5 separate regions of the Homo sapiens genome follow, and all the other regions are linked to region 4. Evidence: promoter capture Hi-C in 16 types of primary human blood cells and fetal thymus (Javierre and others, 2016). All regions are on one chromosome and are shown on one strand. The core of a region is centred on a gene start or on the middle of the fragment in contact, and the rest is flanking DNA. Distances in the headings are between cores, read along the strand shown. Region 1 overlaps KLHL15 (kelch like family member 15). Region 2 overlaps CXorf58 (chromosome X open reading frame 58). Region 3 has its middle 42 kb from the start of CXorf58. Region 4 holds the start of ZFX-AS1 (ZFX antisense RNA 1). Region 5 overlaps CXorf58 (chromosome X open reading frame 58).

Region 1 (4,847 bases), core at 2,238-4,737, 160 kb before region 4:
TTCAAATCTTACTGAATTTTTCAAAAAACTACTTTTTTGAGCGCAATGTATATAAACAAAAACTCCAAATGAAGCACACAAAAAATAAACTTGAAAAAAATGCTATGAAAAACTTTTCCATAGTTTAGTATAACAAAAATAAATCTCTTGCAGCAATAAAACCATAATTTTAAAAGGGAATGTAAGTTAATCATGGATTTAAAATAACCTAAATTAGAACTACATATAAACAGGGAGTTTTCTCATACATTCAGAACCCAAGCAACAGCAACTATCCTTAAAGCTCAAAACTGATTACAGCTAACATCAGGTCCGACGTGACTTACGTAAAGCTGAACCCAGAGTTAGTTCAAGTTAAGATTTTACGAATTTTACAAAACATGAACTTTGATCTTGGCCTCTGTCTTTAAAATGGAAGACCAAGAATACTCAAATGTTTGCCCAGATGTCACCCTGACTAGGGTCATGAAGTCATATCTAAGCAATTAAAGAGAACCACCACTATAGTGTAAAGGCTTTGATGTGGATACCTGGCCTGATGGCTCTTTCTTGGTCTTTTCTAGCAAAAGACATCAATGAGGAAAATAATGAAGACGTTATTTTCTTTAAAGCAAAATAGCACACATACAAAGCCACTAAACTAATGTAGAAAAAAATTAAATGGCTAACTTATTCCTAACTTTCAAAAATAAAATAATGTATTTTTTAAATGTAGAAAAAGACTTTTACCCATATTACCATGGGAAACAAGATACCAAATTTCATGTTTGGAAACTGTAAGTAAATGACAGGACTAGTTAATGAAAATATAAGTCTCATATATAAAATAAGATTATTATTGATTTTTGAAATCAATGCCAATGGTTTTTTCAAAAGCTACTTATGTACCTGGTTTCTTAAACCCAAATGCCTCCAATTCTGGAGTTTGAAGATCAGGTTTAATCTCATAGTATGTCTAATAACTGCCCAAAAAACCCCCAAAAACCAAAGTCTTCACATTTCCATGACTTCACACTTCCATTTTATGTTCAATGGTGGCAGCAGCAAAAAAACAAACAAACAAACAAAAAAACAAAAAACACCAAACAAAGTGAAACTAGAAAATTTATACATCAGCAGCCATATAGAAGGCATTGCAATATTGCACCAATATTCTAAGATCTGGCAAGTTTTGCCAGTATAGATCTAGTCTGTATCAGATATAGACTACTCATGCGCAAATGGCATCAATTTCAATGATCCACTCCCAGGTTATTCTTGCTTAACTTTGTCAACTATGTTTTTTCCTCTGCATTTAAAGAGTTGAAAGGTGCAGCTAATCCTAAAACACTTATTATAAATGCTTTTAAACAGCTATTCTTGATCCATTCTGAACTTTGTGGTTACTATCCTTCATGCTAATAGCTTTCAGTAAATAAAACAAAAACTGAGGGCTTACATCCCTAGTGTCGCTGGGTATTTTGTACAAAATAAACAAGTAGATAAAACCAGTAACATTATAATTCTATTTCTTACCTCTAAGTCAAAACTGAGGTCAAATTTTCTAAGAGTTTCTACCTTCCATTCAATAACAAATGCAGCAGCCTTACTGAATGTAAAAAATGGGAGTTGCACTTACTTTTAAGGGGCCTTGATTTAGGAGTCTGGTATTACCTAAATGCTCTTTAAAAGTGCTTGCATGCTGCAGGGCCAGAACTTGTCATATACCACTCCGATTCTCACTAAAAACAGGGTAACGTTAAACAGACTGCAAAGAAAAACATTTTCAAAAAGAAAAGACATACATCGACAAAGAACACTAACATTTACTTTTGAAAATAAAATATAAAGTGTTAGTTTTCATAACCATACATGTTTCAGAAATATAAGGAGTTCAAATATTACTGAATCAGTATGGACTGAAGATAGGCTACTTTGATAGCAAATGAGGACTCCAGTTATTTCAACTTTCTAAAAATGTTAATATGTGAAAAGACGTTACATCTAAAATTCAACAAGTATGGCGAACTGTGTGTGCAAGTAAGTGCACTAGCTTAAAAATATAGAATCCTAACCACGCATAAAAGGGATGTGCCTTGTGTATTTATAGGTTGTATGCGAGTATGAATATGCTTTCACTAACACAATGCGGATAAGAGAAGGCAGCTTAGAAATAGTGTTTTGAATATAAAAAGTTAATTTTGTAGAAAATTTATATTTTTGCATTTTCAGCAAAAAGCCATGCAAAAAGGTCAAGAGTTTTAAACTTTTAAATAATAAAACTAAAAAGTATAACAGACTGAAATACACTGAAATAAATCTTCAAAAAGGTTTCAGATAGAGACAGAGACTGAAATCACATCCAGTGACACTTATCGGGTCTTCTCTTAGAAGACACATGACTCCTACGCTAACATCTGAAAGAAATGTTTAAAGCAGAAAATCAATATCCCAGATAAGTGGAGCATTCTATTCAACTGCTTCTGGAAGTAGTTTCAAGAGCTAGCACTTAGAATTAACTTATTGCATGAGTTTGAGGCCACTGAAAAGAAAAAAAGGATGCTAGCACAGAATGAAAAATTCTTACAATGTTAGACCAATGGCTTTGATAGTAAAACTGGTGAGGTTTTTCTTTATATGTTTTAATTAATTACTCTGTGCAAACAAATACTTTGTTTGCCTCTTTTTTTAGGGAGGAGGATGTCATTAGTTGCAACGCCTGACCTCATCCAGTACATAGTCCGGAAAATGCAGGTTGCATACTTGTAAACCATCCAGCTTGCAGGGCATCCGAGGGTACTCATCTTCCTTCCACTTGTTTTCATCCGGATCAAAAGTGAGGATGGAATCGCTGTAATGACCATTATAACAAAGGCCTCCAAGAACCATTATTTGTTTGTCCAGCACAGTCACACCATGGCCACTTCTACCAATCGGCATGGATGCCAAGATGGTCCACTGATCAGTCTCTGGGTTGTATACTTCTGTAGAAGGGCATCCCTGAGATTCGAAAGAGGCCCTCAAGATCACACAGACACCACCGAAGACATAAAGCTTGCCATTGTAAGAAATCATCTTGTGAAAGCATCTCGCGTAATTCATCTTGCTCTTATTCTCCCAACAGTTGGTAACCACTTGAGTTCTCCTGGTCCGTTGTTCTATGGTCCCTTCTTTGCTGGGGTCAAACACGCACACTTGCTTGGAGGTGGAAGATGAGGTGATTCCACCGGTGATAAACAATTTGTTATTGAGCACTGTCCCCTCATGTCCATATTTGTTAACTGGATAAGGATCCACAAATTCCCATTTATCGTTGGTGATGTCATATCTCTCAGTTGAATAGAAAGTCTCATCTCTGGTTCTGCCTGCTACGGCGTAAATAAACTTCCCAATAACACCTACAGCAAATTCAGAGCGTGGTACAGACATATCTGCCATCTGCAGCCAGGAGTTCTGTCTCGGGTCATACCTGAATACTTTGGAAGAAGCATGGAATTCACCATCCGGGCCCAGCTCTTCCCCGCCTAACAGGAACACAAAATTATTGACGATAGCAAGGCAGTCAGGTCGCAGAGGTACTTGTGGGCCTTCTAGCTCCCACCAGACTCTTGGTTTCTTTAAGAGAAGTATTTTACTGTTAACCATGCTATGTCCAATCATTCCTCGAAATACTGTAGTTTGCGGTTTTGCAGAACGGATGCGGCTTGACTTCATATCCAACAAAGGCTGCTGGTGAACATTCTGAAAGTAATTCAATGCTTGGTCAACTTCGTAACGGAGCTGTCGGGAGTATCTATAAAATTCTGATGTCTTAACCTAAGAACACAAGAAAAAGAATTTAACCAAAGGAAAAAGCATCAGCTGCAAACAAATTATCAAAGCTGACTAATACGATCATCTTAGGCTCACTTTACTAAAACTGCTTTTCCTGCTAAGATCACCTACTTTCTTTTGTTTTCTACAAAGCTTTTAAAAAATCTTTTTTTTTTTTTTGGAGATGGAGTCTCACTCTGTTGCCCAGGCTGGAGTGCAGTTGCATGGACTCAGCTCACCGCAAGCTCCGCCTCCCAGGTTCAAGCACTTCTCTGCCTCAGCCTCCTGAGGCGCCTGCCACCACGCGCCCAGCTAATTTTTTTATTTTTAGTAGAGATGAGGTTTCATCATCTTGACCAGGCTGGTCTTGAACTCCTGACCTTGTGATCCACCCGCCTCAGCCTCCCAAAGTGCTGGGATTACAGGCGTGAGCCACTGCACTGGGCCTCCTATGTTTTCTTAATTTATAATGATCTATGTACATTCCCAAGCTTTTAAGAGTAAACAAATAATTAGGCACCTATTATGTGAAGCCCTGGGCTACAAGTAGCGGGTATGAGGACAAGTACAGGGCTTCACAGTAGAGGAAACCATATCCACAGTTTTCTTAACCACAAGTAACATCATAAAGCTGTGACTGAATCATTTGGGGAGTTAAGTTAGTGAAAATTTAAATACATGTAAAATTTCGGGGTTTTGACATAAAGACTTGGTCTGATAACTCCTGTAAGAATTCAGTAGATATCAGGTCAAACTTTTTCCTTTAATTTTTAAAATTTTATTTTAAAATTATTATTACTATATATTTTTAGAGATGGGGTCTTGCTCTGTTGCCCAGGCTGGTCTTGAACTCCTGGCCTCAAGCGATCCTCCTGCCTCAGCCTCCTGAGCTGCTGGGATGACAGGTGTGAGTCACTGCGCCTGGCAAACATTTTCCTTTTTGCTTCTGGAGCTGGAGCTACCTAATTATGATGACTACCAAGATTTATATAAAGCATTTTTGGCCAGGTGCAGTGGCTCATGCCTGTTGTCCAAGCACTTAGGGAGGCCAAGGT
Region 2 (4,477 bases), core at 1,716-4,215, 220 kb before region 4:
TCATTGCTGATATGGAGAAAGTGTTAGTGGTCTGGATAGAAAATTAAACCAGCCACTCACGCCTGTAATCCCAGCACTTTGGGAGGCCGAGGTGGGCGGATCACGAGGTCAGGAGATCGAGACCATCCTGGCTAACATGGTGAAACCCCGTCTCTACTAAAAATACAAAAAATTAGCCGGGCATGGTGGCGGGCACCTATAGTCCCAGCTACTAGGGAGGCTGAGGCGGGAGAATGGCGTGAACCCAGGAGGCGGAGCTTGCAGTGAGCCGAAATTGCGCCACTGCACTCCAGTCTGGGCAATAGAGTGAGACTGTGTCTCAAAAAAAAAAAAAAAAAGAAAAAGAAAAAAAAAGAAAAACCAGCCACAATATTCCCTTAAACCAAAGCCTAATCCAGAGCAAGGCCTTAACTCTCTTCAATTCTATGAAGGATCAGAGAGGTGAGAAAGCTGCAGAAGAAACTTTGGAAGCTAGCAGAGGTTGGTTCGTGAAGTTTAGGGAAAGAAGCCGTCTTTATAACATAAAAGTGCAAGGTGAAGCAGCAAGTGCTGATGGAGAAGCTGCAGCAAGTTATCCAGAAGATCTCACTAAGATAATTGTTGAAGGTGGCTGCACTAAACAACAGATTTTCAATGTAGACAAAATGGCCTTATACTGTTAGAAGATGCCCTCTAGGGCTTTCACAGCTAGAGAGGAGAAGTCAATGCCTGGCTTCAAAGGACAGGCTGAGTCTCTTGTTAGGGGCTAATGCAGCTGGTAACTTTAACTTAAAGCCAGTTCTCATTTACCATTCTGAAAATTTTAGGGCCCTTAAAAATTATGCTAAATCTATCCGGGCGGAGTGGCTCAGGCCTGTAATCCCAGCACTTTGGGAGACCAAGGCAGGTGGATCACAAGGTCAGGAGATCGAGACCATCCTGGCTAACACCGTGAAACCCCGTCTCTACTAAAAAATACAAAAATTAGCCGGGCGTGGTGGTGGGCGCCTGTAGTCCCAGCTACTTGGGAGGCTGAGCCAGGAGAATGGCGTGAACCCAGGAGGCGGAGCTTGCAGTGAGCCGAGATTGCACCACTGCACTCCAGCCTGGGTGACAGGGCAAGACTCTGTCTCAAAAAAAAAAAAAAAAAAAAAGAAAAAAGAAATATGTTTCATAAGGCTATAGCTGCCATAGACAATGATTCCCCTGATGGATCTGGGTAAAGTAAAATTTAAAAATCCAGAAACGATTCACCATTCTAGATGCTATTGAGAACATTCATGAGCTGGGCACAGTGGCTCATGGCTGTAATCCCAGTACTTTGGGAGGCTGAGATTGGAGGATCTCTTGAAGATGGAGTTTGAGACCAGCCTGGGCAATATAGGGAGACCCTGTCTCTACAAAAATTACCCCCCACCCCAAAATTAGCCAGGTGTGATGGTATGCCCCTATGGTCCCAGCTACTCAGGAGACTGAGGTGGGAGGATTGCTTTAGCCATGATTGCACTCCAGCCTGGGCAACAGAGTGAGACCCTGTCTCAAAAAAAAAAAAAAAAGCCACAGCCACCCCAGTCTTCAGCAACCAGTACCCTGATCAGTCAGCAGTCATCCACATCAAGGTAAGACTCTCTACCAGCAAAAAGAATAGGACTCACTGAAGGCTCAGATGATCATTAGCATTTTTTAGCAATAAAGTATTTTTTTTCTTTTTGTGGAGATGGGATCTTGCTATGTTTCCTAGGCTGGTCTCGAACTTCTGGGCACAAGTGATCCTGTCAGCTCTTCCTCCGTAAGTTCTGGCATTGCAGGCATGAGCCATTATGCCCAGCCATAACAAAGTATTTTTAAATTAAAGTATGTACATTTTTTTTTAAATAATGCTGTTGCACACTTAAACTACAGTATAATGTAAACATAACTTTTATATGCACTGGGAAACCAAAAATTAGCATGACTCTATTTGTGATATCCACTTTATTACCATGGTCTGCAACTAGACCCACAATATCTCTGAGATATGTCTGTATACAGCCTTAACTATTCACTCATTTGCTTCAGTGTGAAACATGAAATTAATGCAGTGCCTTAGAGACTCCCAATTATGTTTTCTTTCTTTTAGAGTCTTAGACTGTGAGTTTAGGGAAGTGAACCAGGAAATGCCAACTATCTTTGCTAAGGACAAAGACCACATACTTTCAGATTGTGAACATGTCAAGGATTAATGTCATAGAGAGGAGTCCCCAGATAGACATACTGGAAGAGAGAGATAAGATCATTGTTGACGTTTGAGTCCTTATACGGGTGTGGCACTGTCTTTAGCACTTTACATGTGTGTTATCTTCTTTCATCTTCAAGTTTGTAAATTCTGTGACCTTTTTTACAAATGAGAAAAATGAAGTTTAACAAGCCTCAAAAAAACTTGCCTGAGGTCACAGACAGATCTGATAAGTGGCAGAGCAGATGATTGACAGATCTATGATATTTACCCATTTTACTACTTCACTCAGGAAAAAAAATACCCAGCCTTACTTTGCATGGCAGTGCAGGACCATAAAAATGACCAGCAAATTGAAACCATGCAAAGCAAACTTAATAATTTGTGGGGAAAATTGTGATTGTCCTGTGACTTTTCAAACTTTTTGTCTGTAGTCCCAGCTACTTGGGAGGCTGAGGCAAGAGGATCACTTAAGCCCAGGAGTTTGAGGGTAGCCCAGGCAACATAGTGAGACCCCATCTCTGAAAACAAAACAAAACAAGCTTCTTTGTCAAAACATTAAAAACTCTTTTGCTGTCTGTTATAAATACATAGGAAAATGAAAGAAAAAAACCCAACACATTTAGAACACTTTTAGTACACTATAATTTAAAACATTAGAAACATAGACAAAGTGTTTAGTTTCTTCATAAAATATCTTACCAACTGTGAATATACTGGAAACTATTGAATTGTACACTTTAAATGGTGAATTGTATGGTATGTGAACCTCAATAAAGCTGTGAAAAAATAACTTACCAAGAGTACTTTAAACAGTGCTTGCCTTCTTGTTCTTCTAGTATAACTTATAAGCATCTTTTCTATGTCTTGATGTATTGTCATATTCCTTTTAAAATTTGGATCAGCTGCCAACATTTTATTCTTTGCACTTTAAATGTTGCAAAATATCTCAGAGTTCCTTCAGTATGAAGTTTTTTTTGGCCAGCATCACTTCCACTGGGAAAGCTTCATCTTTTTATCATAGCCACTTTCCTCATTTATGTTGATAAGTTCATCCTCACCAAGTTCCTCTAGCTGTAGATCTGCAACGTCTTGAATGATGGCAGTGTTAGCATTCCCACAGTCACCTGTTTCTTCTAGAACTCCATGTATGATTGATTCCAATTTCACTTCAAGGGGTACCACTTTTTGTTTCTTTGACGGGGAATTCCCTCTTTTGATTTTCCATTTTTGTAAAATGTCACATGGGTTTATCATTGGGAGACAAAAATGCAACACAACTATATACGTTGCTGTTTGTGTGTGAAATGAATAACAGATTCACAGTGACCAGTCACTGATTGACTTTGGAAGGTATGACATGATTTGTCACTAATCATGATGATCATCTGTCATTTATATTGTGATCTTTGAGCTGAAGAGCTAGCAACAGGAGGCCGGGCGTGGTGGCTCATGCCTGTAATCCCAGCACTTTGGGAGGCCAAGGTGGGTGGATCACTTGAGGTCAGGAGTTCGAGACCAGCCTGGCCAACATGATGAAACCCTGTCTCTACTAAAAATACAAAAATTAGCCGGGCCTGGTGGCACACGCCTATAATCCCAGCTACTTGGGAGGCTGAGGCAGGAGAATCGCTTGAACCCAGGAGGTGGAGGTTGCAGTGAGCCGAGATTGCGCCGCTGCACTCCAGCCTGGGCGATAAAGCAAGACTCCATCTCAAAAAAAAAAGTTTGAAAAGGCCGGGTGCAGTGGCTCATGTCTGTAATCCTAACACTTGGTGAGGCAGAGGCCGGAGGATTGCTTGAGCCCAGGAGTTTGAGACCTGCCTGGGCAACACAGCGAGACCCCATTCTCCAGAAAAGGAAAAAAAAAAAGATGAAATGGTGCAAAGGTAGGATTGCCTGTGTGTGTGTATGTGTGTGAGTGTGTATGTGTATATGTGAGTGTGAAGGTGTGTGTTGAGAGTGTGTATGTGCATCTGTGTGTGTGTGTTTGAAAGCATGAATGTGACTGTGTAATATACCCTAAAGGCCTTCTTGTTATTCTGTTTCCTAGCACTGTAGCTCCTCCTGCCCTATCCCTGGCTCTTAAATGCACGACTATAATGTTAAAGTGATGATATATATTTGTATTTTTAATTCCTAATTTGATATCATTTTAAATTGGAAAAAAAGAAAAGTGGGATTTCTACAAATACTCCAAAGGAAAATAGTGAAAATCTCCACTTCATACTAGAGATGAACTCATATTTCTAAAAAGGTTTGTGCAAAAGTCCTCTCAACAGC
Region 3 (4,650 bases), core at 2,001-4,500, 200 kb before region 4:
AAGATCAGACTTCTCAACAGCAACACTGAAGCAATCAATGTTTTTATAATTCTGAGGAAAATAATTTCCTACCCAGAATTCTAAAACCAGGCAAACTCTCAATTGAGTTTGAGGGCAGAATAAGGACATTTTCAGATATTCAAGATTACAGGAATTTTTACCTCCCATATGCATTTCTCAAGAAACTTTAAGGCCGGGCGCGGTGGCTCACGCCTGTAATCCCAGCACTTTGGGAGGCCGAGGCAGGTGGATCACGAGGTCAGGAGATCGAGACCATCCTGGCTAACACGGTGAAACCCCGTCTCCACTAAAAATACAAAAAATTCTCTGGGCGTGGTAGCGGGCGCCTGTAGTCCCAGCTACTCCGGAGGCTGAGGCAGGAGAATGGCGTGAGCCTGGGAGGCAGAGCATGCAGCGAGCCGAGATCGAGCCACTGCACTCCAGCCTGGGCAACAGAGCAAGACTCCGTCTCAAAAAAAAAAAAAAAAAGAAACTTTAGAGGATGTTATTTCACCAATACAAAAGTATAAGCAAGGAAAGAAGGTGAATATGGGATCCAAGAAACAGGGGATGCAACGTAAGAGAGGTAAAGGGAATCCCTGATGAGAAAGTCTCCAAACAGCAGCCATTGAGCAGACTTAGAGAAACAAATCCAGATTGGAGCAGACCAGATGGTTCCAGAAGAGACTTTTTAGGTAGATGAACTCATAAACCTAGTATGTTTGAATATGAAAGATTTACCCGAGTGAGAGAAAGTCTGAGGATATGGACTTAGGAAACCAAACAAATGGGAAAAAATGAGAAAAAAAAAAAACCCAGAACAGTTATTAGCTTCAGAAAAAAACCAAAAAGTTGGAAAGGAAGAATAATCATAGTATATTACACATTTGAACAGTAAATAGCATTTTCCTTTACTGATCTAACTAAAATTAGAATATAACCATATGTGAAACCTGGAGGGATAGGAAATGTGTATGTGTGTAGCTGGGTAGGGAATGAGAGAGAATTTAATCCTTACGTCTCATAATGTAAAGTCAGTAAATGATGTCTGTCTTAGTCTGTTTAGGCTGCTATAACAGACTACCATAAACGGGGCAGTTTATAAACAACAGAAACTTCTCACAATTCTGGAGGCTGAGAAGTCCAAAATCAAGGCACTGGCAGATTCAGAGTCTGGTGAGGGCTTGCTTCCTGGCTCATAGGTGGCTGTCTTTTCCCATGACAGAAAAGGGCAAGTGGGGTCTCTTATGAGGGCACTAATCCCATTCATGAGAGTGCTACCCTAGTGACCTAAATCACTTTCCAAAGGCCCCATCTCTACCATCACACTGGAGGTTAGAATTTCAACATATGAATTGGGGTGGGGGTGGGAACACAATCATTCAGTCTATAGCCATGTCCAAAACTGAAAAATCAAGAAGTATCTAATTTTGAGAGATGGAGGTCAATACCAAAAGAATCAGATAAAATATTTGAAACTGTTGCCTCTGAGGATCAGAAAATGGAGAACTATTTGATTTTTAAAACTGCAAGTATGCATTTGATTTTAAAAACTAAATTTAAAAAACACAAGAAAGTCGGGGAATTGTTAGGATGAATACAAGAGCGTGCTAAAGTGGCTCATACTTAGCTTGCTGTTGTTAAATTTTTAACATTCATTGTTAAATTTTCAGGAATTTTGTGAGCTGGTTGGTAAGTATAGCCATTATTAAAAATTAAACTGTAGTCAGGCACAGTGGCTCATGCCTGTAATCCCAGTGCTTTGGGAGGCCGAGACAGGTGGATCACTTGAGCACAGGAGTTTGAGACCAGCCTGGGCAACATGGCAAAACTCCATCTCTACAAAAATTTTTTTTTAAATTAGCTGGGCATGGTGGCACATGCCTGTAGTCCCAGCTGCGTGGGAGGCTGAAGTCGGAGGATCGCTTGAGCCTGGGAGGCAGAGGCTGCAGTAAGCTGAGATCGTGCCACTGCACTCCAGCTTGAGTGACAGAGCCAGACACTGTCTCAAAAAGAAAAAAAAATGAATTGTATAAACTCGTAATTGTATAGTTTACTTAGGTAACCTGTATTAAAATCACAGGTAAAACTTCTCAAAAAGTATCGCTTCTAATTATTTTAATTATTATTTAAGGAGAATCATTCTAATGATTCTACATTTTACATTCTATGATATGAGTTCTTGATTCTATTTTTTTTTTGAGATGGAGTTTCGCTCTTGTTGCCCAGGCTGGAGTGCAATGGTGTGATCTCGCCTCACTGCAACCTCCCCCTCTCGGGTTCAAGCGATTCTCCTGCCTCAGCCTCCTGAAAAGCTAGGACTACAGGCACCCACCACCACGCCCGGCTAATTTTTGTATTTTTAGCAGAGACGGAGTTTCACTATATCGGCCAGGCTGGTCTCGAACTCCTGACCTTGTGATGTGCCTGCCTCGGCCTCCCAAAGTGCTGGAATTACAGGTGTGAGCCACTGTGCCCGGCCGATTCTATTTATATCTATTGTATCTGTATGGTGGAAATGCTGTAGAGTGATGTGCTACTAGACATCTCTTGCCAACTGTTGTGACGTCATGTTGGTAATTTGAAAACATATATATGTATATATTTCTTGTTGTGTATTAAACTTTTAAAAGTATAACACATCTATAGAAAATCATATAAAATGATTTTACAGTTGAATGCATTATTGTAAGGCAAGACACCTTAGTAACTACCATCCACGTCAGAAGAAAGAGTCATACCTGACCACCCCAGAAACCCTCTACCTGGCCCTGCACCTCGTCTCTTAAGAGTAACTATTCTCCTGGCTTTTATGGTAATCACCTCATTCTTTTATAGTTTCCTCACCTAAGCATGCACCCATACACAATGTAGTTTAATTTTGCCTCTTTTTTTATATGGTTTTTATTTCTTTTTAATCTGTAGGTTCCCTATCCACCTCTTTTTTTCTCCCCCATTACAATTTGTTAATTAAACTGGATCATTCATTCTGTAACATTTCCCATGATCTAGACTTTGCTGATTGAATTCCTTGGTGTAGCTAACACGTAACTCTGTCCTCTGTATTTCCTGTAAATTGGATCTAGAGAATCATTCTTTTCTTCTTCTTCCTTTTTTTTTTTTTTTTTTGAGACAAGTTCTCACTCTGTCGCCCAGGCTGGAGTGCAGTGGCATGATCTCGGCTCACTGCAACCTCCACCTCTCAGGCTCAAGCAATCCTCCCACCTCAGCCTCCCGAGTAGCTGGAACTACAGGCTGTGCCACCATGCCCGGCTGATGTTTGTATTTTTCGTAGAGGCAGGGTTTCACCATGTTGCCCAGGCTGGTCTTGAACTCCTGAGCTCAAGCGATCGGGCCACCTCAGCCTCCCAAGGTATTGGGATTATAGGTGTGAGCCACTGTGTCTGGCCTTAAGAGACTAATTCTTTATTATTAAAAACAGTGACAACAACAAAAATACCAATTCAGTAAATATATGTTGAATATCTACTACATGCCTGAATAGGATAAAAATATGAAGTAATTATTAAGGACATTTATCATTTTAGGCAACTTGACAGGATCTTCTCGGGGGACAAATTGTTACGGTTTACTCTATGCCATTAGCTTGGTCATCAACTCAGGAGATAGCTCAAAAAATGTGTGGGTGAAATACATATTAACTGACAAAGAGACTCCTCATAATAGCACAGAAATAGTGTAGCAGTGCCTTTCTGAAGAAATTATTAACTGCATAACCACTTGTATACAAAAGGTTGTCTATTTTTCAAGGCTGGTTTTAACAATGGTGCATTGACCAAGCACCACTGACAATGATTACAAATTTTGTAGGAACAATTTGCAGGAATTCAGCAATCAAGGATTTTTAAAAAGAAGAGGAATAAATTTTACTACATATTTCTAAATTATCAGAACCTTAAGTTTAAAAAGGACACCGAAGGCTGGGTGCAGTGTCTCAAGCCTGTAATCCCAACACTTTGGGAGGCCGAGGCGGACGGATCACCTGAGGTCAGCGGATCGAGACCAGCCTCGCGAACATGGTGAAACCTTGTCTCTACTAAAAATACAAAAAAAAAAAAAAAAAAAAAAATTAGCCAGGCATGGTGGCGGGTGCTTGTAATCCCAGCTGCTTGGGAGGCTGAGGCAGGAAAATTGGTTGAACCCAGGAAGCAGAAGTTGCAGTGAGCCAAGATCGTGCCACAGCACTCCAGCCTGGGTGACAAGAGTGAGACTCTCTCAAAAAAAATAAAAATAAAATAAAATGAAAAGGACACAGAATAATAAGATTCTATAACCTGATACTCTCTATCACTTTTTCCTATGGTGGACCAATAACACAGTCTCCCTAACCAATGCTAATTATTTGTAGAATAATATTGACAACTTGAAGAAATGTTGATTTGCTTGAAAGCAAACATCAAGGCTTCCTTTTCATAAACAGTATTTGGCTAAAGTATTTTAAGTGTGGCTTAAGTTACAATTGTTTTGTAGCTTATTTTCATAATGTACTGGTGAATGTATATACTGTTTATACAATTAATGAAGTTTTAGAAACATGAAAACTTACTTCACCTCTATTAAGTCTTTGTTTGTAAGTAAGGTGAGTTGCTCAGATTTCTGGACCAGGAAGATGTGAAAGAGTGAAGATCG
Region 4 (4,501 bases), core at 829-3,328:
TCACCATGTTACCCAGGCTAGTCTTGAACTCCTGGGCTCAAGTGATCCTCTCGCCTCGGCCTCCCAAAGTGCTGTGATTACAGGACTGAACCAGGGAACCTGGCCTCCATTCTTGCCATACCGTAGCATCACACTGAGGCCCTTGGAAAGTACTTAAACGCTGATTATCAATGTTTTGAAATATTAATGTGGGCGGCCGGGCACGGTGGCTCACGCCTGTAATCCCAGCACTTTGGGAGGCCGAGGCGGGTGGATTACCTGAGGTCAGGAGTTGGAGACCAGCCTGGCCAACATGGTGAAACCCCATCTCTACTAAAAAAATAGAAAAATTAGCCAGGCGTGGTGGCAAGTGCCTGTAATCCCAGCTACTCGGGAGGCTGAGGCAGGAGAATCGCTTGAACCCCGAAGGCAGAGGTTCAGTGAGCCAAGATCACGCCATTGCACTCCAGTCTGGGAGTGCAAGAAATATTAATGTGGGCACACAAGCTATTTCTCATTTTTTTTTATTGAAACAACATTGCTTAGTTTCATTTACCTTTCTGTGAAATGTCTTTCTGTGAAAGTCTATCACAGCCTGATGTAATTTTTATAAACAATGAATACATGCTGTTACTATTTTTGAAAGGAAATTTAATCGCTTGGAAAAATTCAGACTAAAGCCCCGAGAGGAAAATTATCATCCAGTGCATGCTCAGAGATTTCTTCTTACTCTACTTTTGTTTTTCCTTTTTGAAAGCATTTGTGATTGAGAGATGTCTGAGGGAAGGGACAAATTGCATTCTGGGAGTTTTAAAGAGTTATGTCAGGCAACTAAAATACGTGGCCTCTGTATTTAAAGAGATTTCACACCAGTATACTATTTGCTTTATAATTTTTGTGTTTCTTATTGTTTAAAAATGCCTTTAACATTTAGTGCTGTGTTAAAGGATAGCATGCCAGATTCCAGATTAATGTAAAGACTCCACTATTTAACTTTTCCCTAGTAACTTTAAAACAGAGTTTGGGTTCCAAGTTCAGCATGGAAAGATAGCATAAACATTTAAACTAAGTAAAGTGCGAAATACACATTTTTGAAGTTGGTAAGTGCTGTTTAATCATTTTCCCCTTCTCTCCCAAGTCTTTTGAAACTTCAAAAGGCTTGTTTAAGCAGTGTGTTTAAAAAAAAAAAAATCCATACCCAATTGGGCTCCTCTCTATTAAGGAATGTGGAAAATTCATGATTTATGAAACGATGACACCAGTCTTACATTTCACAGGCTCCCAAGCTCTGAAACACGGGTACATAGGAAAATACACAGAAAATTCCTGTTCTTTGCAACGTGCGAAACGTTTCAAAATGCAACTTTGCTCATCTCCCTCCCCCGTACAAACTAATAAAATCAGTTTGGCTCTGACTGCTTATTTTTAAAAAGTAGACGGCCTGGTAGGTGCTCTAGGGATAACCCTTCTCCCCCCACTCCACCCCCCTTCCCGCACACCCATTTAGACTGGCAAGCCCGTTTTCATTTTATTTCAAAGATTTTTTTTTTTTAAGCGAAGGCAGGGGACGGCGGGGGTTGCTAAATTTATCTTCCTCCCCAGCCACGGGGATGAAGAAAACACATTTACTGCGGGCGGGGGTCTGAGGGCCTGCAAACAACTCGAGCTGGAGCCTCGGCCAGGACCGGCGCGAGAGGCGGTAGGTCTCCAGGGAGGCCCCCGGGGGGCGGCCGCGGCCCACGGGACATGGTGGGGGGCGGCCGGGCCGCCTGCCTCTCCGCGGGGTCGGCCGACCGCGGCCCCGCGCGGGCTTTACGGCCGAGGCGGCGGCGGCAGCGGCGCGTGTGTGGCGGCGGCGGGCGGGAGCGCGGAGGAGGTGGAAAGAAGGGGGGCGCTGTCACGGAGACTCCGGCCGCCGGAGACCCCGCCGCAGCGAGGCCACTGGGCTCCCCGGTCGCGGGGCGGGAGCGGCGCCGACACGGGGTGCCAGGAGGACCCACCGGGCGGAGGAGGGGGCCTGTCTACCCTTCCGCATTTTCCTGGGTCTCTCTCCCGGGCGGTGACGTGACGTGCTGACGGCGGGCCCGTGCCGGGGAGCTGGGCCGCTTTTTGTCAGCTCCGAGCTCGGCCCCTCCTCCCTCCCTCCGCCCGCCCCACCAGCCGGAGCCCGGCCCAGTGCTCCAGAGAAAGGCCGGCCTGCAGCACCCGCCACCGTCGCCGGCCGCCCGCACGTCCGTCCGGTGAGTCCCGGGTGCCGCCGCGGCCGCGGGGCCTAGTGCGCGCACAGCGGCCTGGTCTCGGCCTGGTCGGCGGCCCGCAAGGCGCCCTCCCGCGCTAGGCCGGGCGGCGTGGCGCGCGGCGCCGAGCAGGCCCCGAGGAGGCCGCAGTTAGGCCCGGGGAGGAGCCCGGCTGCCCCGAGCGGCGGCGGAGGCGCGCTCCGTAAGCGGGCGGGGGTTGGGGGAGGGTCGCCCGGTTGTGCCGGAGGCGGTCGAGGGGCCCCGGGTCGGCTCCGCGGCCGACCTGGGGCACCGCGCCGGGGTGAGGCCTGGCGAGGAGGCGAAGGCTGCAGGCGTGAGGTGAAGGCCGCAGGCCGGCCGGGCCGATTTTCGCTATGTAAATATCGGTGAGGGGGGGGGAGGGACGGGGGACAAGATGGCGGCGGCTCGGCGCCTGCTGCAGGGGACGATAGAGGGGGTTGCCGGGAGGGGGAGCCGCCATCTTGGAGGCGGTGTCTGGAGAGAAAATTCCGCTACAGCCCGTGAGGGGGGGTGGGAGAGCGGGCGGCGGCGGCAGCGGCGCCGGTGACGGGCCCCGGAGGCCCGGCGCGGCGGCGTGTGCGCGCGGAGGGGCGTGCTCGCTCCCCGTGGCGGCCATTGCCCTTGCCGCCATGATGAGCGCTCGGGCTCCAGGCGCTCGGCGGCAGCGCCACCTTCCTGCCTTGCCTCCCGCAGCCCCGTGACTGGCTGCAGTTTCCGCTGCGTTTCAGCTGAGCTGCCGCAGGCGGCCACCGCCGCCGCCCGGACGCCGGGACCGTTTCACCCTCAGCGCCCCTGGCCCTGCGCCTTCCCCCGCGCCTGTAGCCACCCGAGGGCAGTCGGGGCAGGTGGCATTCCGGACACCTGGGCTTACCAGGGCATACGGGACCCCAGGAAATGTTATTTTTGCTTAAGTCAAATCATATGTGGCTGCTAAGGTGCTTTCGATGCAGTTGTTTTTCCAACAATCTTTGCCGCCCCGAGTATCTGAATAAAGGAAGAAAAATAAAGATTGATGGGAAAGTTTTTGCCATTCTTTTGTCCTATAGGGAAAAAAATTGCACAACACGAGAGCGGAGGAATAAAATTTTGAATCATTCGTACTCATTTATGTGGAAACAACTTTCTTGAAAAACGATTTAAGTAGTGATCTGTTGGTGGTATTTTTTTAAATCGAGGAATAAGGGCAGACTTTTTTATTTTCTTATTGGAGGACAACTTAGTGTGGTGCATATTTATTGTGCATTTGCCTGTCATGGTATTTCGATTTTTCATTTGTGAAGTTTTAAGGCGGAGTTTCATCCCCTAACGTACTTTTTTGATTGCACACTGTGCAACTTTCTTGATAAACTCGGAGCCTACTGTTAGCGATGCACCGTGCTAGATGCTAAGAAACATTAAAAAGGTTCTTGTAATGCAGACGGTGGCTGCAAGAAGTCTCATGTTTAGAGGTAGGTGGGGCAAGGTGAAATGCAGTAAAGTGAGAGGTACAACTAATTACTGGGATTTCCGAGGGAAGCAAGGTTGCCATTGGAGGATCAGGGAGGGACGGGTTCCTGAAGTATTAATAGGTGGCATTTTGAGAAGGTTACCGAGGGATGGGTAGGACTTTGTTAGGTAGAGGTGGAGGTGGAGAAAGGACGTTTCAAGGGTGAAGCTTCTTCAGTAAACAGTAAGTATTTACAGTTTGGCAAAAGTGGATGGTATAGGTAGGGGAGTGGTGGGAATTCAGGCTAGAAAAGTTAGATTGCAGAAGGGCTTGCTTGCCAGGTGGAGGGGCTTATACTCAATGGGGTAGGCAGCGGGGGTGCCCTCAACTAGAAGAGTGATGGCACACCTGAGCTGCACCTTGTTATTTACTTATTTTTTATTTTGAGACAGGTTCTTGCTATATTGCCCCAGGCTGGTCTCGAACTCCTGGGCTCAAGCCGTTCTCCCGCCTCCCACTGCCCGCCTGTCACTGCCGTCTGTTCCCTGAGCTGTGCTTTACGGTACTTAGTAGTTCCATTGGACTAGGAAAAGTTTCAAAGTTGAAAAATAATGAGAGTAGTAAGTTGATCAGTGTTTTCATTATCAGAACGATTACAAGAATGTTCAGAAGTTAAGCAAATTTTGCTACTTTTGGAACGATGCGTCTCTATTAAGACAGCTGCTCCTTTTTTCTATCCTGATTTCTCATCCGAAATAATCTTTTGCTCAGAGTTGTCAGAATTTCTATGGTACACAAATAGGGAGGGGTTTCTAACATTTCATTTACCATGGTTGAA
Region 5 (4,655 bases), core at 1,122-3,621, 240 kb before region 4:
ATTACAGGCGTGAGTCACTGTGTCTGGCCTAGCCTTTTCTTCTTTATATCTTGTAGCCTGCATTTTGCCAGCCAATGGGTAGCATTATGCAGGAGTACCTGTCTTTGTACATAGCGCTGTAAGGGGTAATGATGGGGTGAGAAGGTATGAAGGAGGAGACCCCTACAATCTGCCAGTGCTGGGATATGATCAAAAGTAGAATAATTCCGACTTGACCTGGATGAGCCTGGTTCAAGCAAAGATCAGAGAAGGAAGTTTCTTTTTCTAGGGCATAGTCATCCACCCCCAGAAGAGAACTGGGCCTCCTGTAACTTTGACTATTCCCCATTCCATTTTCATAGCACTTGAACTAGTTGGACGTTTCATTTTAGGTCGTGAATGTTTTTGGGAAGTAAGCTTGTCTCCTCATACTTTTTATTTATAATATACATGCCTCTTAATGATATATTTATATTTTATATGCCTTTTGATGACAAAGTTTTGGCCAGGACTTTTTTTTTTAATCTCAAGGGAAATCTCCTCAAGTATTTCATATCCTCATTCTGAGTAGATTCTGCAAATGACCACTTCCAATTACCACATCCAAATGTTCCTCATTAGGTCAGTCTTAGAGTGGGGGATGGGGAGGTACAGGAGGAGGAAGCATAAATTGATAGTTCTCTAAGGTTTTAGGAAAATGAAAACTACTTTATAAATATTAACCTCTTTTTTTCTCTCAGAATGCTTAAAGACATTTCAGCTCAAATAATACAGAGGGCTTGGTTATCTCATACAAACAAAATGATATTTCGACTCCTAAAACACGCAATTTGTGCAGCGGTATGTATTTTGCTTATTTTTTTCTCTGAGGGATTTAATTATCAAGCTAAAAGATCTATTAATTAAAGATCGAATAGATAACCTTCTTTATCTCCTCTTTTTTTTTTTTTTTTGAGAGGGAGTCTGGCTCTTTCACCCAGGCTGGAGTGCAGTGGCACAATCTTGGCTCACTGCAACCTCTGCCTCCCAGGTTCAAGCGATTCTTCTGCTTCAGCCTCCCAAGTAGCTGGGACTACAGGCACCTGTCACCATGCCTGGCTAATGTTTTGTATTTTTAGTAGCGATGGGGTTTCACCATGTTAGCCAGGATGATCTCGATCTCCTGACCTCGTGATCTGCCTGCCTTGGCCTCCCAAAGTGCTGGGATTACAGGCGTGAGCCACCACGCCCGGCCCTTTCTTTATCTCTTCTATTTGGATCTAATAATATCACGTGGAGTTCTGGAATTGTTTCTTCTGTTAGCCCTAGATGAGTATTTCTGGATTTTTTAAAATGTGGATGACTATTACTTTTTTCTGAAATTAATATACTGCTTGCCTTGTTTTGTTTTTAAATTTGATTCCTTATTTGAAAATGTGAGACAGTTCTCTTCCAACAATAAAAAGCTCCGAATCTGCAAGGTGCAGCATCTCACGCCTGTAATCCCAGCACTTTGGGAGGCCAAGGCAGGGAGGGCCAGGAGTTCGAGACCAGTTTGGCCAACATTGAGAAACCCTGTCTCTACTAAAATACAAAAAAATAGCCAGGCGTGGTGGCATGAGCCTGTAGTCACAGCTACTTGGGAGGCTGAGGCAGGAGAATTGCTTGAACCCAGGAGGTGGAGGTTATGGTGAGCGGAGATTGCGCCACTACATTCCAGCCTGGGCGACAGTGAGACTCTGTCCCCCTTCAAAAAGCTCTGAATTAAAAGTTCCCTTACCTTTTATCCAGCAATTTTACTTCTAAGAATCTGTTCTACAATACATACACAATTTGATTGCACCGTTGTTTGTAACAGCAAAGGGAGTAAACTGTATAATATCTATTGATATGATGCTGGTTAAATAAGTGTTGCTGCTTTTATAGTGTTAAACTTTGCAGCTTTAACATGATTCTGCAATAGAAAGGAAATGAAGATAGCTCATCAGTTAAAAAAGCAAGCACCAGACAGTATGAAGAGCATGATCCTACTTGAGTGAAAACCAAAACCAAAAAAAAAAGGTGCATATCCCCCCTCCTCCAGAAAGCAACTCTGGCAACCCTAGCAGAGCCTTCCTTGGCATAGTACCAAATATTCTAATAAAACAACCTATAAATCCAGTAGTCTATTATTAGTGATACTCTTTTTTTTCTTTTCTTTTTTGAGATGAAGTCTCACTCTGTTGCCCAGGCTGGAGTGCAGTGGCATGATCTTGGCTCACTGCAACCTCCACCACCCAGGTTCAAGTGATTATCCTGCCTCCGCCTCCCTAGTAGCTGGGACTACAGGTGCGTGCCGCCATGCCCAGCTAATTTTTTTTTTTTTGTACTTTTAGTAGAGACAGGGTTTCACCATGTTAGCCAGGCTGGTCTCAAACTCCTGACCTCAGGTGATCCACCCTCCTTGGCCTCCCAAAGTGCTGGGATTACAGGCGTGAGCCACCACACCCGGCCAATTAGTGATACTCTTAAGGGAATTTTAGCAGCTCTGAAAAAAATAATAAAGTCTGAGCAATGTATACACCGTTCACCATCTGACCCACAGACCTATTTCTGATGTCAGTAAAAGCAGAATACGGCTGGGCACAGTGGCTCACACCTGTAATCCCAGCGTGAGCTGGGATCTTTAGGAGGCCGAGGCGGGTGGATTGCCTGAGGTCAGGAGTTCGAGACCAGTCCGGTCAACATGGTGAAACCCCGTCTCTACTAAAAATACAAAAAAATTAGCCGGGCATGGTGGTGTGCGCCTGTAATCCCAGCTACCTTGAACCGGGGAGGTGGAGGTTATAGTGAGCCGAGTTTGAGCCACTGCACTCCAGCCTGGGCGACAGAGCAAGACTCCGTCTGAATACTTCAGAGAAAACCCACCCAGGTAAACTCCTGGCATTTCAGGTCTATTATCCATTGTCTTTGAATATGGAACTTGTATTTAATTTTATAATGCTGGTTTCATAGTATTTTTAGACTTTTGTAACAGAAGGAAATTCTTTTTTATCTGTTATAGTAATACTTTAATACCTTAAATTAATAATGCTTTGTCCTTTTAAAAGCTATTTATTTATTTATTTTGAGACAGAGTCTTGCTCTGTCACCCAGGCTGGAGTGCAGTGGCACGATCTCGGCTCACTGCAACCTCTGCCTCCCGGGTTCAAGCGATTCTCCTGCTTCAGCCTCCCAAATAGCTTGGACTACAGGCGCCTGCCATCACGCCTGGCTAATTTTTGTATTTTTAGTAGAGATGGGGTTTCACCATGTTGACCAGGTTGGTCTCGAACTCTTGACCTCAGGTGATCCTCCCGCTTTGGCCTCCCAAAGTGCCAGGATTATAGGCGTGAGCCGCAGTGCCCAGCCTAAAAGCTCTTTAGTGTACATTTTTATGTGATTATCATAGGCATAACGGGGTTGGTTGGGGTTGTTTGGGGGAAAGAGTTGGGACTTTAGAGTCAAACAGAACTAAATGAATCCTGGCTTCCCCATTCACTACCTGTATGCCTTTTTATAAATTACAAAAATTCCCTGAGCCTCAGCCTTCTCATCTGTAAAATAGGCGTGATAATATTCTCATAATGGGCCAGGTGCAGTGGCTCACGCCTGTAATCCCAGCACTTTGGGAGGCTGAGGCGGGTGGATCACCTGAAGTCGGGAGCTCGAGACCAGCCTGACCAACATGAAGAAACCCCATCTCTATTAAAAATACAAAATTAGCCAGGCATGGTGGCGCATGCCTGTAATTCCAGCTACTCAGGAGGCTGAGCAGGAGAATCACTTGAACCTGGGAGGTGGAGGTTGCGGTGAGCCGAGATCATGCCATTGCACTGCAGCCTGAGTGGTGGCTCACACCTGTAATCCCAGCACTTTGGGAGGCTGAGGCGTGCGGCTCACAAGGTCAGGAGTTCCAGGCCAGCCTGGCCAATATGGTGAAACCCCGTCTCTACTGAAAAAATACAAAATTAGCCGGGCGTGGTGGCAGGTGCCTGTAGTCCCAGCTACTCGGGAGGCTGAGGCAGGAGAATCGCTTGAACCTGGGAGGCGGAGGTTGCAGTGAGCCGAGATCATGCCACCGCACTCGAGCCTGGGCGACGGAGCGAGACTCTGTCTCAAAACAAACAAAAAATTCTCATAGTGTTGCTGATGTAAGGATTAAATGAGCTAATGTATATAAGGCACCTAACATAGTAGTATATGGTACATAAAAGGTGCTTAAAAGCTAGTAACTTATTACTATTATCATCCTCATCTTACAGTGATTCATTCAACAAATACTTCTTAAGCATCTGCTGTGTTCCAGGCACTGTATTAGATGCTAGGAATATAGTGGTAAAGAGAAAAGCCACCATCCCTACCTTCATGAAGCTTACAGTCTAGTAGGAGGCACAGACAAGTTGATAAGTAATTATAATATATTGTGAAAAGTGCTGTCATAGGGAAATAATAGTGCCTTTGATCTCTAAAAGGGACAGATAACCAAAGTTGGAGGCCAAAATGATTAAGTAACTGGCTCAAGGCTACACAGATAGTAAGTGGAGGTGCCAAAACAAAAACCCACCCCTTCAGAACTCCAAGTCCAGCATAATGTTCACTTTACCACGTTGCCTCTGTTATAGTCCATAAATTGTGTCTGGGTGGGATACTGCTTTCCTTTTACAGCACTGTCCTTT

Evidence for each region. Contacts are between HindIII fragments. The CHiCAGO score rates a contact against its expected background, and 5 or more counts as called.
Region 1: a contact is called between a fragment that was not itself captured here and the fragment with the promoter of ZFX-AS1 in region 4, in 2 of 17 cell types (total B cells and naive CD8 T cells). The highest score is 6.1, in total B cells.
Region 2: a contact is called between a fragment that was not itself captured here and the fragment with the promoter of ZFX-AS1 in region 4, in 7 of 17 cell types (naive CD8 T cells, activated CD4 T cells, fetal thymus and 4 more). The highest score is 10.8, in naive CD8 T cells.
Region 3: a contact is called between a fragment that was not itself captured here and the fragment with the promoter of ZFX-AS1 in region 4, in 2 of 17 cell types (naive CD8 T cells and activated CD4 T cells). The highest score is 6.4, in naive CD8 T cells.
Region 5: a fragment that was not itself captured here is called in contact with the fragment with the promoter of ZFX-AS1 in region 4 in 14 of 17 cell types (total CD4 T cells, total B cells, naive CD8 T cells and 11 more); the score reaches 13.5 in total CD4 T cells.

What each region holds. Positions count from the first base shown.
Region 1 is chrX:23,985,236-23,990,082 of GRCh38, forward strand. It overlaps KLHL15 (kelch like family member 15), which reads right to left. Exons shown (of 4, transcript NM_030624.3): 4 at 1-3,795. The coding sequence ends at 2,686. Among named protein-coding and RNA genes, the nearest start is that of KLHL15, 40 kb to the right of the region's middle. The HindIII fragment of the contact is 912 bases long and covers 3,032-3,943 here.
Region 2 is chrX:23,929,085-23,933,561 of GRCh38, forward strand. All of the region lies in intron 6 of CXorf58 (chromosome X open reading frame 58), which reads left to right. Among named protein-coding and RNA genes, the nearest start is that of CXorf58, 23 kb to the left of the region's middle. The HindIII fragment of the contact is 463 bases long and covers 2,735-3,197 here.
Region 3 is chrX:23,947,435-23,952,084 of GRCh38, forward strand. No RefSeq gene overlaps it. Among named protein-coding and RNA genes, the nearest start is that of CXorf58, 42 kb to the left of the region's middle. The HindIII fragment of the contact is 8,514 bases long and covers 1-4,650 here.
Region 4 is chrX:24,147,576-24,152,076 of GRCh38, forward strand. ZFX-AS1 (ZFX antisense RNA 1) reads right to left here and starts at 2,079. Exons shown (of 3, transcript NR_046657.1): 1 at 1,980-2,079; 2 at 1,178-1,267. ZFX (zinc finger protein X-linked) reads left to right here and starts at 2,154. Exons shown (of 10, transcript NM_003410.4): 1 at 2,154-2,219; 2 at 4,116-4,225. RefSeq lists enhancers at 1,491-1,590, 1,797-2,610 and silencers at 1,701-2,060, 2,121-2,530, 2,551-2,600, 2,651-3,160. The HindIII fragment of the contact is 5,789 bases long and covers 1-3,889 here.
Region 5 is chrX:23,911,038-23,915,692 of GRCh38, forward strand. It overlaps CXorf58 (chromosome X open reading frame 58), which reads left to right. Exons shown (of 9, transcript NM_152761.3): 3 at 720-819. Among named protein-coding and RNA genes, the nearest start is that of CXorf58, 5.4 kb to the left of the region's middle. The HindIII fragment of the contact is 3,954 bases long and covers 395-4,348 here.